Regions from separate parts of the Homo sapiens genome. Here region 1 is linked to region 2. The links are contacts of gene promoters, found by promoter capture Hi-C in human tissues and cell types (Jung and others, 2019). All regions are on one chromosome and are shown on one strand. Each heading gives the region's core, a stretch centred on a gene start or on the middle of the fragment in contact. The rest is flanking DNA. Distances are from core to core; before and after follow the strand shown.

The links. The method cuts DNA at HindIII sites, captures the fragments that hold promoters and counts their contacts. A contact is called where the count stands out against the background at its distance.
Region 1: a contact is called between a fragment that was not itself captured here and the fragment with the promoter of SLC24A3 in region 2, in 1 of the 25 tissues and cell types used here (IMR-90 fibroblasts).

Annotation. Positions count from the first base shown.
Region 1 is chr20:18,612,205-18,618,108 of GRCh38, reverse strand. All of the region lies in intron 3 of DTD1 (D-aminoacyl-tRNA deacylase 1), which reads right to left. Among named protein-coding and RNA genes, the nearest start is that of DTD1, 27 kb to the right of the region's middle. The HindIII fragment of the contact is 7,223 bases long and covers 1-5,904 here.
Region 2 is chr20:19,208,625-19,214,352 of GRCh38, reverse strand. It overlaps SLC24A3 (solute carrier family 24 member 3), which reads right to left and starts at 1,711. Exons shown (of 17, transcript NM_020689.4): 1 at 1,369-1,711. The coding sequence starts at 1,510. LOC101929547 (a long non-coding RNA gene) reads left to right here and starts at 1,885. Exons shown (of 3, transcript XR_007067549.1): 1 at 1,885-2,724; 2 at 3,912-4,289; 3 at 4,384-5,728. RefSeq lists a silencer at 1,311-1,360. The HindIII fragment of the contact is 12,474 bases long and covers 1-5,728 here.

The DNA of each region.
Region 1 (5,904 bases), core at 1,295-3,794, 600 kb after region 2:
TTTCTGAGAATTTCTCCAACAGGTATCTCCCGACTGCATATGAAGTGGCATATGTACAAATGTATTCATCATGTCACTGTTGTTTTTAAGAGACATAAATTAGAAATAATCCAGGAGTCCAACAATACAAGATCTATTAAATAAGCCAGGCTATGGTCCTGCCACAGAACAGTACACAGCAGTTTAAAAAGAGAGATTTAATTTGTTCAGAATAGAAGAGAAAAAAAAAGAAAGAAGTCTCTATGAACTGGTATGAAAAGAATCTCTAGGACACACTGTGAATTTTTTTTTAAAGCCAAGATATAAAACAGTACATCACATCATACCTTTTGTATAGAAAGGGGAATATTTTTAAAATTCATATTTGCTCACATTTGCAAATGGATAGATGGATAGAAAAAAATAATAAAAGTAATTACCTCTAGAGAGCAAGAAAAACAGGCTGGACAGAGACACGAATGAGAGCAAACCTTTCCAGTTTAGACCTTTTCATATCATTTTGATGTCTGAACTACCTCATCCTACTACCTATTCAATCATTAATTAGAAGAATAAAGTTAGAGGACTCACACCTCCCAATTTCAAAACTTACTACAAAGTTACAGTAATCAAAACAGTATGGTACTGTGTAAGTACAGAAACATAGAACAATGAACTAGAACTGTGAGTCCAGAAGTAAACCCTCATATATATGGTCACAAATATATATGTGTGTGTATATGTATATACATTATATTATATATACACATTATTAAAAATTATATATCTAATATTATATATATTATATATAATTTTTTTCTGAATTCGTAGTCCCTGAATCAATAAGGTTTTGAACTCTTCCCATTCCTCCTGCTGAATGATTCAGACTTTTCGTTTCATCCCAAGTCACCTTACTTACTTGGATTGTAACAACACTGAACAGAAGTTTCTTTCTACCTATGCCTGTATCTTCTTTTAAAAATTATCTTTATTTCTTCCAATTGAATTGTATCATAGACTCTCGGCTAAGGAGAAAGAGCTGATCCTGCAATTCATGGCCAGAAGTGCGGAGGAAATTCAGGAAATGAGATAAAAGTGAGGAAGGAGAATAAGGACAGGAGGGGGAAAGAGCCCAGAGAGAATGGAAAGAATAGAAAGGATGGCAAAGCCACCAAAATGGACCAGTCCTCATCTCCTGAGACCCAGAGGCATTCATTGCACAAAATCACAAAGCACCCACTGTGCATAAGGCATGCTGCCATTAGTGCAGGAGTGCAAAACCCCACCATACCACTGACACTGCTTTTTTAAAAAAATTTTTTAGAGACAGGGTCTTACTCTATCACCCGGGCTAGAGTGCAGTGGTGTGATCATAGCTTGCTGCTGCCTTGAACTCCTGGGCCCAAGCAATCCTCCTGCCTCAGCCTCTCAATTAGCTGGGACTATAGGCGTGCACCATCACACTCAGCTAATTTTTTCTTTTTTTTTCTTTTTTTCTTTTCTTTTTAGAGATGGGGTCTTGCTATGCTGCCCAGGCTGGTCTAGAACTCCTGGGCTGAAGTGATTCTCCTGCTTCGACCTCCCAAAGTGCTGGGATTATAGGTGTGAGCCACTGTGGTGGCTGACATTGCTTTTAGGGTGGCCATGGTTATTTTAGGTAGGGGAAGGGAGAACTGGCAAGATCAGGTTGCTGTTCACAATAGACAATCAACTAAGCAAATCAATGAAATCACGAAAAGACAGGGTTTAATAACGAAAGTAGATATAGTTTGCCATTTGGGAAGAGGTATGCTACATTGTAGCTGTGAAGATGATTTACATGTAAGACCAAAAAAGAGACATGCAGGAATAAATAATGAAGTCAGTAAGCAAATTAATGAAGAGAATGAAAGAAAAGGAAAGAATGAGAGAAAATATAAATGTATTTGGCCAAAATCAGTTGGACATCTGTGTCAAACTTTTACACAAGAGCAACAGCCTGTACCACAGTTTGCCAACCCTGCCATTCATTAACAATGAAGACACGATCCCACATTATAATTTCCTAAATTTACAAGAAAAATAATGCCTTTGGCATCACAGTCTTTGCCAAAGTATATAGAACAGGCTTCCACTGAAAGTTCACTCATGCTGTTAAAATGCTTTAAATAGTAAACAGAGTAGAAAATTAAACAAATCCACAGAAATCAAGTACTAAGCACAAAACAAAAACTTAGACGTGGTCTTCCAGCTCCTGGCACTTTCTCTTTGCATTATGAAGCGGGAGAGGCACGGGCATCATGGACGTCCCATGGAGTACACAGAGCAGAAGCGGTCATAAACTGCTGCCCTCCTGACGTGTCTGTCCACATTTCTCTAGCTCTTAGATGCCCACAACAAATCAGACCCAGCAGAGAATATACAGGTAATCCTTTTGAATACTGTAGCAGCTTCTGATTTGCTGAACAAAGCTGACTAGTGAATGTTTCCCTGAGCCCATTACAAATGCCTCAGAGCTGGAACTAGAAGCTTGAGAGCAAAGGTTGCCCTTCTCCACTATTCCATTTTGGTATAACTTGTTTTTTTTCTAACTATAAAAGCAATACATGCTTAACACTCAACTTGGACAGCGTTCAATGCCTCCTGCCAAATGGGGCCTTCAGCATTCATGTGAAGGCTGGAGATCCCTGAAGGGCTGTTGAGGATACAAGTGACCCAGTTTCCTGTGCCTACTCAGTCTGGGGACCCAATAATGCACCCTCAACGTTTAGCTCATTCTCAGTAGAGGGGAAAATATGACAGGACTATTCACTAGTTTTTCCCCTAAAGCAATGATTCGAGAAACAGCCATGAAATGAGGAAAGTTCTACCCTTTGAGAGCAGCAGGGTTATGAGCTGTGGAAGACTAGAGATGGCTTCAAACTCTTTGACACTCCTGTCATTACAGCGTGGGACTGTATCTCCTCCCCTTGAATCGGGGTAGGCTGTGAGACTGCTTTGACCAACATTATATGACAGAAGTGAGGCTGTGCCACTTTCCAGGCCTGGTCTGAAGGGATCAGCACATCTATTCCCATCTTGGAATGCCTGCTCTTGCAATGCTCACTGTGGAGGAAGCCAGCACCATGTTATGAAGCCAACTGCCCTGAGACCACCAGGTTGGGAGGAGCCCAGCAACGTGGGGAGGCCAAGGATGAGAAGTTGGGAGGAGTAGGGGGAGGAGAGCAGAAAGGGGAAGAGGGTACACTGCGGCCGTTTTAGAAGGAAGAAAGGAAGGAAGGAAGGGATTGAAGGAGAGTGGAAGAAAGAGTGAGCAGGAGGAAGGGAAGGAGGAAGGGAGAGAGGGAGGGAGAAGGGAAAATGTGTGCAAGCCTAGGGAGCTTGCTGGGACACAGGAAGTGCCTCTAAATGGGCCCACACAAAAAACCCTTCCTGATACTACAGCCTGCAGCTTCTCTCATCCTTCTCATCTCAGCTTAAATCTCTCTCCCGGCTGTCTTTGCCGCTAACAAACATAGAAGTCAGCCAGTGCACCAGATGACCAAGTTGCCAGATTGCCAACAGTGTTTTTCAGCAATGTGGTCTCTCTTCCACTCCTCCATCCAAGTCTGTCCCTGAACCTCTTGAACCTGCTCAGGCCAGTCACACACCTGCCTAGAGCTGGATACTCCAGCGGCTTTACTGGGGACCTGGCCGTGAACTCTGTCATTTCTCCAGCCGAAGCAGACAGCTAATCCTCCTGCCCCGATGTTCATCCTAGCCCTACCTTGTCTCCTATGCAAAGAGGAGTGCATTTTTACACAATGCATTCAGGATATCACCTGGCCCAAGTTTTCCCGAGAACTGCACTGCCACAGGGCTGCTTCTTAGGGTGGCCAGCCATCCTAGTTTGCCCAGGACTTAGGGGTTTCTAGGGATGTGGGATGCTCAGTGCTTGAGCAGGAGCATGCTGGGAAAACCTGATCTCTGCTCTGAGGCTGGTCTGTCCAGTGCCCCAGGTCATTACAATAGAAGAAGAGGCTCAGAGAGTTTTTAAAAGAAAAATAGGCTGGGTGCAGTGGCTCACACCTGTATCCCAGCACTTTGGGAGGCCAAGGCGGGCAGACCACTTGAGCCCAGGAGTTTGAGACCAGCCTGGGCAACATGGCGAAACTGTCTCCAATCTTTTACACTTTATGTAAAATATAAAAGAAAAACAGTGGGGGTGTTTCCAATTTAAATAGCATGCACCCTAGTGGCCAGTCAATATTCAACGAGGGGCAACAGTACATACCCACATACAAGCATAAAGATCAACAACACTCTGCATGGGTATTGGTTTGATGAGTCAAGAAGAATCAACAAATGACCTAAACACAGCTCAGACAAAATCATGCCCAAGCACATGTGCAGCCACCACCTTAGCAACTAACCCTGTTATTCATCCCTAACACTCCCTCAAAGTATGCATCACACCAGTCACCTCAGAAGGTTCTGATGACACTTGTTTCTGAAAGGAGAATCGCTCATATACAACTGGTAAATGAAAGTGCATATACCACAGAGGCTGTATCTCAGCAGAGGTGGGTTTTCTCAGACAAGGAGAGCCAGACTAGTGGGAATAAAATGACAGCCTTCAGCAGAAAAGCCCTCAGCACTGGCAGCAGAAGCCCCTAAAAGTATCTTATGAAAATAAAAAACAAGTGCCTACTGCCTTCCAACCCAGCCACAGGACTTTGGTGTTCTGCTATTAACTCCATTTTTCCCATAAGCCCTGAGAGTTTTAGCAACAGTTTCGCAGAGCAGGAGGTTTCTGAGGAATGTTACCACGCTGTGGCAGAAACAGCCACACTAGTTTAGTATCTCTCTTCTCTAGACCGTGAGCTCCTTTAGGGCAGGAACTGCATCACTCTTACTCGGCACTGTATACCCAGAGCCTAGCACAAGGGCTGACAGATAAAGTGTCTTATTGATGGATAAGTTACAAAACTGACTTGAATGGAACCAATAACATCTCCCCCAGCAGAAACAGGACTAAAATCCTGGATGAACATCCTGCTCAGAAAGGAAGGACACTCTGGCCTCAGGGCACACTGCTCCCCTTCCTAGGCCCAAATGAGGCCCAAAAACCCCTCCGCTGATTTCCTTGATCATGACGGAGAAGGCAGGAAAGTCCCAGTAGACTCAATAAATACAGAAAAATAACAGAAAAGGGCCAGGTGCAGTGGCTCACGCCTGTAATCCCAGCACTTTGGGAGGCGGAAGTGTGCAGATCACTTGAGGTCAGGAGTTCCAGACCAACCTGGCCAACATGGTGAAACCCTGCTTCTACTAAAAATACAAAAATTAGCCAGGTGTGGTGGCAGGCGCCTATAGTTCCAGCTACTTAGGAGGCTGAGGCAGGAGAATCGCTTGAACCTGGGAGGAGGAGGTTGCAGTGAGCCCAGATTGCGCCAATGCACTCCAGCCTGGGCGACAGAGTGAGACTCTGTCGCAAAATAAAAAAAAAGAAAGATAACAGAAAAGGCCAATAAGCCAAGAAGATGTGAATTTTACAGTGAAGCAAAGATATCAGTGAAGCTCAGGTTCTAGAGACAGCTGCTGGTTCGATTCCAGGCTCTGCCACTTACGTGCTGAGTGACCTTCCATAGGTTACCGTGCTGCACCTCACCTACAGAATGGCAGTAATCCTCATACTCACCTCTTAGAATTGTTGTGAGTATTCAACGAGATAAAGAATGAAAGAGTGTTTGCTTTGCACAGGGCCTGGAATATAACAAGCCCTCAACAGAGGTATTTTGGCATGTTATTAACTAACAATAATAATAAACATGTGTGGGCCAGGCGCGGTGGCTCACCCCTGTAATCCCAGCACTTTGGGAGGCCGAGGCGGGCGGATCACGAGGTCAGGAGATTGAGACCATCCCGGCTAAAACGGTGAAACCCCGTCTCTACTAAAAATACAAA
Region 2 (5,728 bases), core at 462-2,961:
GGGAGAGATTCTGCTTCCCTCACACCGGCACGGCCCCCTTCCTGATGTCAGAACCCAAGGCTACGGGATCTGAGATCCAGGAGAGCAATGGAGAGAGCCGTGGAGTCTTGAACAGCTTCACTGAAGACCAAGACGGACTCTCTGCTATTACCATAAATGATGAAGTCTGTCAAGCGGTCTGCTAAGACTGAATGAAGACTGACGCCTGTTTCACTTCCCCACCAAGCAGGAGACCAGCCAAGCTGGGGGAGATCCCTTTTTAAATTCATGGCACCTTTGAAAATATTTTACGGTGACTATCAAAATGTCTTTATTCTGCACCTCATGACATCTTGCATTAGAGCTACGTCGACCTCAACACCACAGCACATACTTGTAACTGTTTTTTTGTTTGTTTGTTTTGTTTTGTTTTGTTTCTTTCTCACAACCCTTTACATGGCTGTTTTCCCACTAATCGTGCCACTTCCACGGCCGGGATATAAAACCATTTTACAACAGTTATTCTCCCATGTTTTTCCTTCATTTTATAGACAGCTGAATCCCAGGATCGAAGCTGTTTCAGCAGACAACTGTTGGGAGCACACAAGATCTATTTCAGCTCAAGAAAGGCCAAGGACAAAGACAAGACAAAAGTTGTGGGTTAAAGGGCAGACTTTGCGCAGAGCACCGGTAGAGGAGCGGACAGTGTGATGCGTGGTCCACTGCAAACCATTTCTTCCACAGCAGCAGCTCTGCAAAAGGGACCTCTGAGGAAGAATTCCCTGTCTTCCCAGTGAGTGGTCATTTTAGGAGAACAAGTCCCCTACTAGCCCATAGCTGGAGGGCCAACACTTTTTCTCTCCCTGAAGTTCCCGGCACCTGTTCTGAAAGGGGGTTGAAGAGCTCTCTACTCGGGCCATCCCGCCTGCTCTCTGGATGGAGAACATACGGACAACTGTGTGTTAAGCAGTCCCCTTGAATCCTTCAGCAAGCCAAGGAGTATACAGGTGGTCACCTGCACAGGTGCCGGGTCTACCACCACAACTTTATCCCTGGCCTTGGGGGCTGATGGAGAGTAAGACTCCCCACCACCGCCACCAGCAGTACCTCCAGCTCGCGAGTAAGCAGCGCACAGGCGGGCACAGGTAAATGTTCCCAGGGCGGCCAGACGCCTAAGCCTGCTGGCTGCTGGCGCTCAGGGTCCCCACCTCCATGCCTCTGCGTGGGGCAGGGGGAGTCCTCGTGCCTGGCATCCCACTCCCCCCGCCAACCCAGCCCGCTTATCCTGGGGCTCCGGCCGGGCCGCCCGAAGGAGCCCCGCGCCCAGCCCCGGGAGCCCCGAGCCGCCGGAGCCGCAGCGCCCACTCGGGGCAGGCAGCGTGCACTCACCCTTCTGCTCTCGCAGGCTCGACAGCGACCAGAGCAGCAGCGCCACCGAGGCCAGGAAGCAGAGCTGGCTCAGCAGAAGGTCCCTCCGGCGGCGGCGGCGGCGGCGGCGACGCGCGCGGTCCTCGTCGCCGGACGGCCGCATCCTCGGGCGGCCGGGCGGCGGCCTCGGCGGGCGGCGGCCGCTCCTGTCGCGGGCGGCCGCGGCGGGGACAGCGGCAGGAGGCAGCCCTGCGCGCAGCAGCCGCGCGTCCTCGCTGCGCTCCCACCCGGCCGCCGCCTCCGCCTCCTCTTCCTCCTCCTCGCCGCTGCCCGTCTCCTCGTCGTCGCCCTCCTCGTCGCTATCGCCCAGTCCCTCCTCCCCTCCCTCCTCCTCCTCCTCGCCGCTCGCCCGCGCCGCCGCCTCCCGGCGCTCGGGGTCCCGCTCCTCCTCGCGCGCCATGGCTCCCACGCTCCGCGCCCGCGCTCGGCCTGGGGCGGCGGCGCGGCGGGGGCGGCGGGGGCGGCCGGGAGGCGGGGGCGGAGGGGGCAGAGGAGGAGGAGCGGGGAAGGACCGACGGTAGGAGGGCCCGCCGCTGGCCAACTCCGCCGGTTGGCAAAGCCACCCCGGACTGGCTCTGGCCTCGCCGGCTGCAGGAGCGCCTCGCGGGGCCGCCCGCCTATTCCATGGTCGGCGCGATGGGGGCCGGGGCCGGGCCGGAGCGAACAGGGAGCACCGAGCGAGCTGGGAGCATGAGCTAGCGCAGCTCCCGGCAGCCTGCAGCGGCGAGGCTGGTCGGGCCAGGGTTGGCGGGGGGCAGTGCCTGGGACACAGCCCGGCGCTGGCCGGCATGGCGGGGAGGGGGCGCGCTGGGAGGAGACTGGGCTGGGGAGGGATCCCTGTGTGCAGTCCTTCAACCCTTCTGTGCCAGGGGAAGAGGGACGGCGCAGGGGGCCCCCTCTCGGGAAGCACACACGCTGCCTCCCAGAGGCCGATCTTCACCAAGAAGGATTCGCTGGAAACTTTCGGAAAACCGAGGGGCTCTTCAGCCTCCTCTCTACGTGCTACCTGGAGTCGGGGCGCCGCGAGTGCGCTTGGCTGCCCGCGCCCAGCCTCTGGCCTCGCCTCTTCTCGCGGGCCTCCCGGGTTTCCCTCTGCCCCCTTGCGGGGATCCCCCTGTGCGCCCGACTCGGGATCTGGAACAGGCCTCCCCAGAGGCTGTTAGTTCCATAAGGGTGTCCGGCTCCCCCCTCTGTCTTGGGCTCACACTTCGCTTTCTGTTCGTGCTGGACCAAGTCCAATACTGTGGCTGATCGAAGTGGGGACAGCTGGCACGGTCCCTGGAGAGGCGGCCTGAAGAGGCTTCTGGCCTTGTGCAGGTAACACCAGCCTGCCCTACCTCCAACGTTAGAATCTTAGTCCTCCCATTTCCCCCATTCTAGGTCTCCTGCCCCTCCTTGCTGAAGGTGTGGGCTGCCCTAGAGATGGCTGGACTCACGACCTGCCGCAGGTGCCCATTTGGAGGGGATCCCTGGCCATCCCAGACACAGCCCACTCTCCCTCATTGGGCTTCCCTGGACTCTTCCCAGATGCTAGCCTGGGGCTGCTGGCTGGGCTGAGGAGGAGATGCCATTGTTGGGGCGGAGGGTGGGGGGGCGCTGAAAACAAAAGACCTTGTCCAGAAAGGGATCACCTGAAACCAGGTGTCTGTCTAGGTGACTGTCTCCATGGAATCCATTCAGATCAGGGAATCTAGCTTCATACCCTAAGGAGGTGGGAAGGAAGCAGAGAACCTCTGTATAAGGCTCCCCTGTCTAGGTCTGTTCAAATGTGTCCCCACCTGTGACTGACCTACCCCCCCCGACCTCCTCCCAGACAATCCCTGACAGCGCCCGGGGACAGCAAGGTCACAGCAAAGGGCAAAGGAAGTGGTTATAGGTGGCCTCCTTTCCAGAGAAAGGCCATCTCACCCAGGGAGACCAGAGACTTTTCCTTTGTGGGTATATCATTTATGACTGCTGTTCTCAGCCTGGCATCTTCCAGACACTCAGAGTACCTCCCCCACAATGCCTGAGTGGTTTTCCCTTTGCTTTGGCTGCAGATACTAAGGAGGGTGTAAAAATACGAGTTCATCCGTGCTGGAGTGTGTGGGGAGAATTCTCTAGTTGTGTTATCTCCATCAAGCTTTTGCAGACACAGAAAAGAAAGTTTAGGAGCTGAGAAGAATTCAACTAACCAGGAAAGTCACTCAAATAGTGTTTTCTAGTGAAAACGAGGGAAAATAGAAGGTGAGAGAGGGAATCTGGAATTAATTGAGTTAGGAAATGAACACAAGCTCCAGGGGAAAATACCATAGGCTCAAGGAATTGTGTAATCTGGTGATGGAGGGGGAGTTAGGAAGGGAGCCAGGAGGAAGGAGAATAACCAGGAACTGGTAATTTCTTGGAAATTATCTCAGCACCAGGAGTGTATGTGTGTGTGTGTGGCGGGGTGGGGCGGGGGGGCCGGGGGAGAGCACTCCTGTGGCACACAGAAATGATTCTTGGGTTTCTATTCATTTTGACAGATTTTGGAGTGAAGGGCACTGTTAAAGTAAAGCACAGAGAGTGATTCCTTGGGCGGCCAGGCACCACCTAGGGAAGAAAGGTGGGGATCCTGGTCCCTAGGCTGACAGCAACTGAGACCTGATAGGTTCCTCAGCCCCCCAGGTGATGGCCAAGTGAGACAGGCCTCAGGAGCTCCTCTCCAAAGAAAACAGTCATTTTTTTTCCTACCTGTCCCTTTCAGTCTTTGGAAGCTCCCTCCAGAAACCGAACTGTGAAAGGAGCAAGAGTTGAAATGAAGAATGTGCTCTGATACTTCAGTCTGAGAGTATTTCTTTCCTGGAGAGAGAGGCATCACTCCTAGATGTGTGGGGGTCTTCACCCTTTCAGGAATAAGACAGGTGTCTTTACAGAGCACCTCCCCACCTTGGGCTGGGTTCTGGGGTCACTGTCTACTCCCCCTGTTTTGACCTTCCATAAACATTCTGTTTTCAGGTCCCTGCAGAGACTTTGGACCTGATGTGGTGAATAAAGTTGGTTAGTCTTTCTCACAGTTCTACCTTTAGGACAAAGAATAGAAAGCCTCCCGTGACTATATTCACTAACTCTCAGCCCAGGCCAGATCATCCACCAGCCAGTGAAAGGGACCTCGTCTGTGGCCAAACTAGGTGCAGCTCGGTGCCCTCCTGTGATATTTCCAGCTCTCCAGCCTCCTGCTGACCACAGCTCACAGACCTCATGGAGTAGTTTCCAGGACAAAGCAAGGTTATGTCTCCACAACACCAAACATTCCCAGGTGTGGCAGGCAAGCCATTGATTTAGAAGAGAGGAGGAGAGAGGAAGAGAAAACCAGAAAAGGCACTTTCTTGGTAAAGAGACATCAGCTTTCTCACCATGGCTGTTTCATAACACAAGGAGACCTGGCCCAAGCTCAGAGGGGAAAGACCCCTGGGTGTTCATGGAAAACCTTTAAGCACAGTGAGACCAAATGTTAGTAGATGGGGGATAAAAGGGAGAAATTCATGGAGTATGCCTAGAACAGGCCTTGTATGCAGCATCCCCTTCTTGCCTAGGACTTGAAGGGCCAGGCTTCCTGTCATTGCCTCACTCAAATGTAGCCCAGGAAGACATTAGACTGATAGCACTGATCACCTCCAGACAAAACCCCTGCACCTGCACAGTCACATAGACTTGGACAAAAGCCCATCCTTACTAAGGAAGACCTAACAACTATTTCTTCTCACGCCCATTCTTGTCCACCGTCTTTATCAAAAAGCCAGGAAAACTGCTTCTTCAGACACTTTCTGAGCCGGCTGTATTTTGAAGGACAAAAAAAAAAAAATTACTCTTTTGAGAGCATTGTGTCTGCAAGGTGGGCTCACGTTATTTTTGGTGATCAGTTTATGACTGGAGTTCAAATAGACTGCTTATTTTATAAGAGTTTTTAATTTTGAATATTCTTTTTGCTGAACTGTGTGCATTTGTTTGGTTTTTAACTCACCACATGAATATGACTATAGATTTTTTTTTCCTAGTTGACCATGGTCAGATTCACAATTGCCTTTAAAAAAAATTTGTTGGCTGGGCACGGTGGCTCACGCCTGTAATCCCAACACTTTAGGAGGCTGAAGCAGGTGGATCATCTGAGGTCAGAAGTTCGAGGCCAACCTGGCCAACATGGTGAAACTCCGTCTCTACTAAAAATACAAAAATTAGCCAGGCAGGGTGGCGCATGCCTGTAATCCCAGCTACTCAGGAGGCTAAGGCAGGAGACTCTCTTGAACCCGGAAGGTGGAGGTTGCAGTGAGCCGAGATCACGACACTGCACTCCAGCCTGGGT